Regions from separate parts of the Homo sapiens genome. Here region 1 is linked to region 2. The links are contacts of gene promoters, found by promoter capture Hi-C in blood cells and fetal thymus (Javierre and others, 2016). All regions are on one chromosome and are shown on one strand. Each heading gives the region's core, a stretch centred on a gene start or on the middle of the fragment in contact. The rest is flanking DNA. Distances are from core to core; before and after follow the strand shown. Region 1 has its middle 8.0 kb from the start of CAPN8. Region 2 holds the start of DISP1 (dispatched RND transporter family member 1).

The links. Contacts are between HindIII fragments. The CHiCAGO score rates a contact against its expected background, and 5 or more counts as called.
Region 1: a fragment that was not itself captured here is called in contact with the fragment with the promoter of DISP1 in region 2 in 2 of 17 cell types (naive CD8 T cells and naive CD4 T cells); the score reaches 5.3 in naive CD8 T cells.

What each region holds. Positions count from the first base shown.
Region 1 is chr1:223,670,912-223,676,515 of GRCh38, forward strand. No RefSeq gene overlaps it. Among named protein-coding and RNA genes, the nearest start is that of CAPN8, 8.0 kb to the left of the region's middle. The HindIII fragment of the contact is 207 bases long and covers 1,148-1,354 here.
Region 2 is chr1:222,811,548-222,816,921 of GRCh38, forward strand. DISP1 (dispatched RND transporter family member 1) reads left to right here and starts at 3,492. Exons shown (of 9, transcript NM_001377229.1): 1 at 3,492-3,531. RefSeq lists an enhancer at 2,883-2,942 and silencers at 3,183-3,262, 3,353-3,452. The HindIII fragment of the contact is 6,781 bases long and covers 2,260-5,374 here.

The DNA of each region.
Region 1 (5,604 bases), core at 1-2,500, 860 kb after region 2:
AGATGCGACCTGGGCAGTAGGCTGTGAGATGTGATGCCTAAAAGGAAGAAATCCAATGACTCACTCAGCCCTCCAATCTGCAAGCCATCTCTGTGCCTCACTCAGATCTGCAAGCCTCACTCAGATCTGCAAGCCGTCTCTGTGCCAACACTCCACTGGGCAGGGGTCAATGCTCGTAGGAGGATAAAAGGACAAATAGAGGCCAGACGCATTTGTTCAGGCCTGCAATCCCAGCACTTTGGGAGGACAAGGCAGGCAGATGACTTGAGCCCAGCAGTTCCAGACCAGCCTGAGCAACGTGGTGAAACCCCATCTCTATAAAAATTTCAAAAAATTAGCCAGGCATGGTGGCAGGCACCTGTAATACCAGCTACTCAAGAGACTGAGGCAGAAGAATTGCTTGAACCCAGGAGGTGGAGGTTTCAGAGAGCTGAGATCGCGCCACTGCACTCTGGCCTAGGTGACAGAGCAAGACCTTGTCTCAAGAAAAAGAAAAAAGAAAAGAAAAGAAAAAATCGAAAGACAAATAGACACCATGCCTGCCCACAAAGAACTTCCATGCAGTGGAAAGACCAGGCAATGCTCAAAGAAAGAGTGGTTGATTCTGAGGATGATGAGTGATAAGGAGGGCTTCATGGAAGAGGTGGCCTTCCAGTTAGATCTGTAGGATAAGGTGCTTGAAGGATGATGATTTTGAAAGAAGGCAGTGTAAAAAGGGCATTGGAGTCAAGGGGAACAGCAAGAAAATGGCAAGAAGGAACAGCTCTGCACACAGTGCCAACAGAATATTAATTATCTAGAATGAGATCATTCTAGATCACTCACTCCTGGAGTGAGGCAGGAGGCAAACAACAAGAGGAAAAGACACTGGGGGCCTTGAATGCCATCCTAAATGGATGTGGACTTCTTCTCTATAGTTAGGGTGCAGTTGCTCTGAAACAAGCAAGAATCGATGATGGCTTAATTCAGGTAGTGGCACTGGGGCTGGGCAGGTAGGGAGAGGAGTTCCCAAGTTTACCTCCTCTGTGAGTCCCAGAGGCTGGGGATGAGTGTGGAGGAAGGGAAGACACAGCCAGGATACCTCTTGTGATCTTGTGATTTAATAAGAAATAAGTATTTTGGTCTTTGTCCTCAGTTCCTGGCACAAAGCTTCTAAAATCTTTGTAATTTCCTGGGTGATAAATGTGCTAGGAGCATCTTTTGTTGTAATATTTGGTCTTTGACTCTAGTTCCTGACAGAGCTCCTAAATCCCTGGAATTTCCTGGGAATAGAAGAGTCTTTTGTTCTAATAAGGTGACTCTTGTGGGCTCCTGAATGGGGGCTAGTCACAAGAAAGACCAAGCCATGATTAGAAGCTTGGAAAAAGCCAGGCAAGTTGCTTCACAACTGTAATCCCAGAACTTTGAGAGGCCAACGTAAAAGGATCGTTTCAGCCCAGGAGTTCAGCGCCAGCCTGGACAACACAGTGAGATGATATCTGTACTAAAAATAAAAAATAATAAACTAGCTGGACATAGTGGTACACACCTGTAGTCCCAGCTACTCAGGAAACCAAGGCAAGAGGATTGCTTGGGCCCAGGAGATTGAGGCTGTAGCGGGCCATGTTCATGCCACTGTACTCCAGCCTAGGCAACAGAGAGAGACCCTGTCTCAGAAACAAGAAAGAAAGAAAGAAAGAAAGAAAGAAAGAAAGAAAGAAAGAAAGAAAGAAAGAAAGAAAGAAAGAAAGGAGGGAGGGAGGGAGGGAGGGAGGGAGGGAGGGAGGGAGGGAGGAAGGGAGGGCTTGGAACTTTCAGCCCCACTCCCCATCTTCCAGGCAGGGGAGAGGAGCTGGTGACTAGGTTGATAATCCATCATGCCTATGAGATAAAGCCTCCATAAAAATTCCTGAGCTACAAAGACCTAACAACAGAGCTATCATTATATCTGGCAATCCCATTACTGGGTATATACCCAAAGGAATATAAATCATTCTGCCATAAAGATACATGCAAGCAAATGTTTCTTGCAGCACTATTCACAATAGCAAAGACATGGAATCAATCAAAATGCCCATCAATTACAAATTGGATAAAGAAAACGTGGTGCATATACACCCTGAAATACTATGCAGTCAAAAAAAGAACAAGACTATGTCTTTTACTGAAATGTGGATGGAGCTAGAGGCTATTGTCCTTAGCAAACTAATGCAAGAATACCAAATACCACATGTTCTCACTTGTAAGTGGGAGCTAAGTGATGAGAACTCATGAACACAAAGAAGGGAACAACAGACACTGGAGCCTACTTGCAGGTAGAGGGTGGGAGGAGGGAGAGGAACAAAAAAAGAATAACTATTTGGTACTAGGCTTAGTACTTGGGTGATGAAATAATCTGTACAACAAATCCCTATGACAGGAGCTTAGCTATATAACAAACTTGCTGTATTAGTCCATTCTCACACTGCTATAAAGAAATACCTAAAACTGAGTAATTTATAAAGAAAAGTTGTTTAATTGGCTTATGGTTCTGCAGGCTATACAGGCTTCTGCTTCTGAGGAGGCCTCAGAAAACTTACAGTCGTGGTGGAAGACAAAGGTGAAGCAAGCACATCTTACATGGTGGGAGCAGGAGGAAGTGTAGGGGAGGTGCTACACACTTTTAAGATAGCACTAGGGGGATGGTGCTAAACCATTAAACCACCCCCATGATCTGATCACCTCCCACCAGGCCCCTTCTCCAACACTGGGGATTACAAATTGACATGAGATTTGGACGAAGACACAAATCCAAACCATATTCTGTCCCTGGCCTATCCCAAACTTTGTGTCCTTCTCACATTGCAAAATACAATTATCCCATCTCAACAGTCCCCCAAGTTTTAACTCATTTCAGCATTAACTCGAAAGTCCAGTCCAAAGTCTCATCTGAGACAAGACAAGTCCCTTCCACCCATGAGCCTGTAAAATCAAAAACAAGTTAGTTACTTCCAAAATACAATAGGGGTATAGGCATTGGATAATTACTCCCTTTCCAGAAGGGAAAAATTGGCCAAAGCAAAGGAGCTATAGGCCCTATGCAGGTCCAAAACCCAGCAGGGCAGTCATTAAATCTTAAAGCTCTGAAATAATCTCCTTTGACTCTGTGTCTCACATCCAGACCACACTGGTGAAAGGGCTGGGCTCCCAAGGCCTTGGGCAGTTCTGTCCCTGTGGCTCTGCAGGGCTCAGCTCCCATGGCTGTTCTCAAGGGTGTTGAGTGCCTGTGGCTTTTCCAGGTGCACAGTGCAAGCTGTTGGTGGATCTACCATTCTGGGGTCTGGAGGATGGTGGTCTTCGTCTCACAGCCCCACTAGGCAGTGCCCCACTGGAAACTCTGCATGGGGGTTTCAACCCCACATTTCCCTTCTGCACTACCCTAGTAGAGGTTCTCCATGAGGGCTCCACTCCTGCAGCAGACTTCTGCCTAGACATTCGGCCATTTCCATACATCTTCTGAAATCTAGGCAGAGACTCCCAAGCCTTAACTCTTGTCCTCTGCACACCCACAGGCTTAATGCCATGTGGAGGCCACCAATACTTGCAGCTTGCACCCTCTGGAGCAGCTGCCTGAGGCATATCTGGAGCTTGAGCCGCCAGGACACAGGGAGCACTGTCCCGAGGTTGTGCAGGGCAGTGGGGCTCTGGGTCCAGACCACAAAACCATTCTTCTATCCTAGGCCTCTGGGCCTGTGAAGGGAGAGGCTGCCATGAAGTTTGCTGAAATGCCTTCCAGGCATTTTCCCCATTGTCTCAGCTATTAACATTCAGTTCCTCTTTACTTACGCAAATTTCTGCAGCTGGTTTGAATTCCTCTTCTGAAATTTTTTTTTTCTCTACCACATGGCCAGGCTGCAAATTTTCCAAACTTTTATGCTCTGCTTCCCTTTTAAATAAAAGTTCTAGTTTTAGATCATTTATTTCCTTATGCATGTGACTGTAGGTTCTTACAAGCAGCCAAGTCACATCTTGAATGTTTTGCTGCTTAGAAATTTCTCCCTCAAGATACCCTAAATCATCTCTCTCAAGTTCAAGTTCCACAAATGTCTAGAGCAGGGGCATAATGCTGCCAGTCTCTTTGCTAACACATAGGAAGAGTAACCTTACCCCAGTTTCCAATAAGCTCCATCTGAGAGGTCTCCATCTGAGACTTCCTCAGCCTGGACTTCATTGTCCATATCACTATCAGCATTTTGGCCACAACAATTCAACAAGTTTCTAGGAAGCTCCAAACTTTCCCTCATTTTCCTGTCTTCTTCTGAGCCCTCCAAACTCTTCCAACCTCTGCCTATTACCCAGTTTCAAAGTCATTTCCACATTTTCAAGTACCTTTATAGCAATGCTCCACTTCTCTGGTACCAATTTTTTTTATTAGTCCATTCTCACACTGCTATAAAGAAGTACCTGAAACTGGGTAATGTATAAAGAAAGGATGTTTCATTGTCTCACAGTTCTGTAGGCTGTATAGGCTTCTGCTTCTGTCAAGGCCTCAGGAAACTTACAATCACAGCAGAAGGCAAAGGGGAAGCAAGCACATCTTACATAGTGGGAGCAAGAGGAAGGAGGGGTGCCACACACTTTTAAAACAGCACTAGAGGGATGGTGCTAAACCATTAAACTGTTCCTATGATCCAGTCACCTCCCACCAGGCCCCTCCTCCAACACTGGCAATTCCAGTTCAACATGAGATTTGGGTGGGGACACAACTCCAAACCGCAGCACTTGCACATATACCCCTGAACCTAAAATAAAAGTTTAAAAAATAATAATAAAGAAAGAAATCTACACACACACACACACACACACACACACACAGAGAGAGAGAGAGAGAGAGAAAGAGAGAGAGAGAGAGAGAGAAAGAGAGAGAAAGGCAAGGTCACAGCTAAAAAAAAAAAAAAAATCCCTGAGCTACAGAATTCAGAGAGCTTCCAGGCTGCTGAACTCATGGAGGTGCTGGGAGGGTGGTGTGCCCAGAGAAGGCATGGAAGTTCTGCACCCCTTTCCCCATACCTTGCCTGTATTTGTCTGTTCTCATGCTGCTAATAAAGGCATATCTGAGACTGCATAATTTGTAAAGGAAAGAGGTTTAATGGACTCATAGTTCTACATGGCTGGGGAGGCCTCACAATCATGGCAGAAGAGCAAGGAACATCTTACATGGTGGCAGGCAAGAATAGGACATGTGCAGGGGAACTCCTCCTTATAAAACCATCAGATCTCATGAGACTTATTCACTATTAAGAGGATAGCATGGGAAAGACCCACCCTTATGATTCAGTTACCTCCCACAACATGTGGGAATTGTGGGAGTCACAATTCAAGATGAGATTTGAGTAGGGACACAGCCAAGACATGTCATTGCCCTGTGCATCTCTCCCATCTGGCTGTTCCTGAATTGCATCGTTTTATGATAAACCCATAACTTAGTAACTTTTCTCTTTGCTTTCTGTGAACTATTCTAGCAAATTAGTGAACATGAGGAGGAGGTCGTGGGAACCTCCAATTTGTAACCAAGTCAGACAGAAGTTGTGGGTGACCTGGGGACCCACCACTTATGATTGGGCTCTGAAGTGGGGATGGTCTTGT
Region 2 (5,374 bases), core at 2,242-4,741:
TGGTAAAAAAAAAAAGTAAGGAAACGACATATACCCATGTATGAACTAAAGAGAATGTAGAATGTGTAAATAAACTTTATGAATAACTAACCTTATTAGCTCTGTTAATTAACCCATCTACCTGTTTGAGCCAGTTGGCGAGTACGGAAAAAAAAAGTAGGAAAATTTTCCTTAAAATTTTCTCTCCTGATTCAGATTAACATATTCACTATCTACTGTCACCCACAAATGGCTTTTGAACAGCTCTCACAGTTCCGCAGTCAGGCTGATGCCATTATACAGATGTGGGTAAACTCCAAAGATCAGGAGCTGAGTGGGAGGAGACTGAATAGTGCACTTTCAAGGATTTCACAGTAGTTTCCTCAGTTGTTGAGAGACGAGATTGTTAGCTAATCCTGTCTCTGGGACTACTGAACTATTTAGCCTTAGGAAAACCACTATGCCTAGCTGGAAGGGCATTAGTTCCTTCCTCTGTTGACATGCATGGTTTCCAAAGTCTCCTTCCACTTTACACTCTGATTGCATGATTCTCCCCACCTGTGTGATTTTAATAGTTAAAGTCATCTAACCCATGGTAATTGTGACAGTTTTCCTGAATGGACCAGGCAGCCATGGAGGTGTGCAAATCCTTCTCCTGTTCTTGAGTCTGAGGAGAGAAAGTGGCTCCAGAACTCTGGTGCATGCTATAGAATGAGTGGGCAACCTTGTGTCTTGTGAATTGATGTCTTGGGGTTTGATTGCTAGGAGGGGAAACCTACTAAAATGATTCTTAACCAAATGGGGGGTTTACTGGAAGGACACGGAATTTTCGTAGAACTTAAGGGCAGAACATTTAGCTGGATCTCATAAGGGACTGGGGAATCAGAAACTGAAAAGAAGGGAACTAAGATGTTCACCTCTCAGATAAGTCTTCTCTTTTTCCATCTTTCTCTCCTTATCCTTATTTCCTTCTCATCATTCCTGTTGCTTTCCCCCTTTTCCCATCAGTTTTGAACATCTTACTCATGCCTAACCTAATTCTAGGTTTGGACATTTCTAATTTAGCATGCAAGAGTGGAGCCCTATATGTGCATTGCAAAATCCATGCATGTGAGACTTTCTAGGCCTGTTTGAGTTCAGTGTTCATATTTGGTCTGGTTTGCTGTGGCAATGAGTATGGTTCGTTCAGCTCAGTGCCCATTCAGAAGAGACTCTTGGAGCACATTATCTTAAACAAGGATTGGAAATGAATATGCTCCTTAAGATTATTTTGGTTGCAAGCAGCAGCAATCTTCTTTGACTAGCCAAAAAAAAAAAAGTTTTGGAATTATACAGGGATATCTCCTATAACCAAAGGAAACAGGGCAGGTCCTGGATCTTTGGCAAAGGGTGTTAATAGATTTTTTCTTTAGGGAACTGCCATTTGTGACTCAGTTCTACTGAGTAACTATATTCTCTCTGTGTTTCTCTATGCCTCATTTAAGATTTCTGGGGCAAAGAGTCTAAATGGTCTGGTTTAGGATATGCCCACCTCTGAATTAATCTGTTATGTAGACAAGGGACATGGTAGCGCAACCAACTTGTCTCAGTTTTCGCAAAACTATCCCAGTTTAAGCACCGAAAGTCCAGCATCCTGGTATCCCCCTGTCTTTAGCAAACCAGAGTAGCTGGTCACACTAGGACATGGTCGCTTGTGCATATGTGGCCCATAAAAGGACTGCCTCTATGTATTTCAGCCATTCCTACAAAAAAAGGAATTGTGAGAAGCTATAAGGAAACATTTCACAGAGTGTCTATTACATTCTACTTCTTGGCACCCAGCGTGGGCACACACACACACACACACACACACACACACACCCCCCACATCACACCACATACACACTCTCTTCTTTCCATCCTTTCAAAAATACACCTTGCCGCTATGTGAATCAGTTATTTCAAGTATCACCACAAATGGACTACTAACCTTCCCAATGGGAGAAAACCCAAACGCGTGACCTTTTACTTCACTTAGAGTTGATGTTATGCCCTCTAAGTACAGACTTTCTACACGATATCCATTCCTCATTTTCTTCTACTGTAATCCTATCTCCATATATTGCAATGTATGGCCTTTTGCTGGCAAAAGGAGAAAAAAAGAAAAATGTATGTATTATACCATTCCTTTTTAAAAAGGCAAAGAAAGGGCTTGGTGTGCAAGAGAGTATTTATTAAACACTGGTAGCAAAGAAAACAAACAAAAAATGCAACAGTCCTCATTACTGTAGCTGGTGTTGAAGCTTCTTTCTTCTGGGCCCATTCCATAGTTCCCTGTGACTTCAGTTAGCATCTCAGTTGGTTGGGGTGATTTGCTCAATGCAGCAACCTGAGGGGTATGATCCCTTGTGGTCCTGCCTTTATAGGGTTGTGGTAGCCGTCTATTGCCTTTACATCTGGGTATGGCAGTTCAAGAAAGCACCCTCAAGGATAAAACATGCTATTCATGATGTATTATTTTTCTTTGATGACTAGGACAATCCCCCTAGTCAACCCCATGACTCACTGTTTTGTCTATTCCCTTAGATGACCCCACGGATTCCGTTGCACGGAGTCTCTGAAGTCCAAAATTTTTAAGCATAGGGCACAACGTTCTTCATGATTTGGCCTTGTCTCTTCTCATTATGCTTGCTCTTGCATCTGCCATCTGACACTTTGCTTAACTCCTGGCCAGCTACCGGTACAAGCCAAGCTCTCACTCCATAACGTCCTTCTTCTCTGCATGCCCTTCTCCACTGTGCCTGTCCTTTAACTCTTATTCATCATTTATTTCAGTCTCAATTGAAGAGTCATTATTTCTAGAAAGCCTTCTCCGCCCAGCTCTCTACATTGCACCGTTCCCTACAGCACCACCAGAGTGCCTCTAACACTTGATGGTTTCATTGCTTATATATTTTTGTTTCTGTGCATAAGCCTCCCGAGGGAGCCGCCGCTGTTCGATTTATTCTATAGCTAGTTCCTCGCCCTGAGTGTAAGCCTCACGAGAGTGGGGCTGTCCTCTGTTCGCTCTATCCCCAGCCCCTACAGCAGTGCCTGGTTGTTCACAGGCCTATATAGCAGGTGATAATAATCTGAATAATGAAAGAAGAAACACTGTCTTGTGGCGTGATTTACTTCTGTTTTTACTTATGTCAACTTTTAACTAGATTGTGAGGACAGAGGTCAGTGTCTGAGTCATCTTGTGCCTCACTGGGCTTGGGCAGAATAGACGCTTGGTCAAGCATTTGCACACTGGTCGATGGATACACTAGAAAGAGCAGGAGCGCGAGAGGGAATTTTTTTGGCGCCTGCCTCGCCCTTTCAAGCCAAGCCCCTCTGCCCTCTGCCCCTTGCCAGCCGCCCGTCGCCCGCCGCCGGCGATCCCTCTCCCGGGGAGCGGTAGTCAAGCGAGGCCAGCGGGCCGGGAGCGGGCCGGGAGCGGGCGAGGGGCGGGACTTCCGGTCCCGCTCGCGACGCGGACCGCGCCAGGCGGAAGCCCGGCTCCGGGCCAGCATCCGAGAGCCCGGACTGGAGGTGAGTTCGCAGCCGGAACGTTGCAGGCACTTGTTTCCTCAGTGGATGCCTTTCGGCGCGCCGCCGCCCGGCGCCGCGGGACTGGGAGACCGGGTAGGGACGGGAGAGTCGGCATCTCCCGCGCGTGTGGAGGGAAATCCGGGACCCCAGGCTTGAGAGAAGGGCCAGGACTGAGAACGGGGAACCAGGAGAGCCCTAAGGGCAGCCTTTAGGGACTGAGGAGGGAGGCACCGGGGACCCTGAGGCCAAAGAGGCCCTGAGACTGGAGGTTGCGGATGACACGGGGCAGAGTTGCATCTCGGAGGAAAGTAGTCATTCGTGGGGGCGTGTCCCGGGTCCTGGCGGATTGACTGAGAGGATGGCAGGAGATGGCAAAGGTTGGCTTCCAGGGAGAGGTTACAGAGGAGGGAGTCAGTCCTTCTCTGAGGGTCGTAGGTGAGAAGGACGTCTTGACCTAACGAACCAGAAAGATGACCAGCCACCTATTGGATGCTGAACTCCTATTGCTTCATTTGCAATTCATGCAGTTTGTTTTTTGTTTTTAGAAATATATCCCGCTCCGCGCGTGTGGATTTCGGGAAAATATTGTATATTCCTAGGGACCGCTCGAATTCTTGCTTCACCCAGATTCTGCGTGTCTTTGTCAAACTGATAGTAGTTGAGAGTTCTCTTCACCCAAGGAAGACAACCAAAGTTTTCCTTTTGGACTCTTCTCTACCCTGCAGAGTTTAGCTTGTCTTATTTCCCTTGTCATGGGATGAACTAAATGCGTTCAGAATTATGGTGATAATCACATGGAAAGCCAGTGCTGTCAATGTTTGCAGTTTCAACTCATTGTTTTTCTGTCCAACTTTCTAACACATTTTTTCTAAAAGCTATTTTGTTGGGTTTAGTCTTTTAGTTTAACCAATAAAGGCAATTTTACATCAGGGTGCAGCAAATTACTAGCAGTTCTTAAGATTTTACTGTTCCTTTTTATTTCTGCTGTAAGGAAATATATATATATATATATATATATATATATAAATATTTGCCATTGTCAGTGTTTTTTAAAAATATTGATAACCCAAGATCTGTTGTTACACGCACATTAGCACATTTAGTTTTCCCCAGTGGCCAGTGTTTGGTATGTGGGCTCATTATTATTACCAAAGGTAATTATTGATTTAGTTATTATTTACCTTGCATTTATGTTTTATTGGATGTGATTAATATGTGCTTCCTAATCTACATAATATAGTGTTTCACTCAGTGTAATTACAAAGATTCTCCTAGCTTTTAAGTAGGTAGTAAGTGAATTGGATTTTTGCCACAAAGTGAGCAAGGTAGCTAGGAAGAATCATAACACTGTCACTGATGGAGGGTGAGATCTGATGATTGCTTTGCTTGTTTCAGGTGTTTCACATTTCAAATGTTAGAAGTTTTTGTTTTAAAAATTACTGTATTAGTACAGGTAACTTTTAGATCTGATTTGGTGGTCTGACTTGAACTAATTCAGGAAAACTAGAACATTTTATATTTATTGGTACTGCGATATCTTGCTAGCTTATAAATTCTTGATGGCCTTGAATATCTGTGCTTGAGTGAAATACACAGTTATAACGTCCTTATGTTTAGGAGGACTGCTGATATTTACAAGTGTAAAGCAAGGCCTAAACATAAACAGTGCCTTAACATGTAAATGAGCATATTGAATAAGTTTTCAAATTACAAAATGAAGAGATAACACTGATCTCTAAAGTAATTGAATTAACTGCCATGTTAATTTCTGTATATGTCTCAATTTAATCTTATTTGTTTAAGTAGACAATATTGTTTATCTGATAAGACTTGATTTTATTTT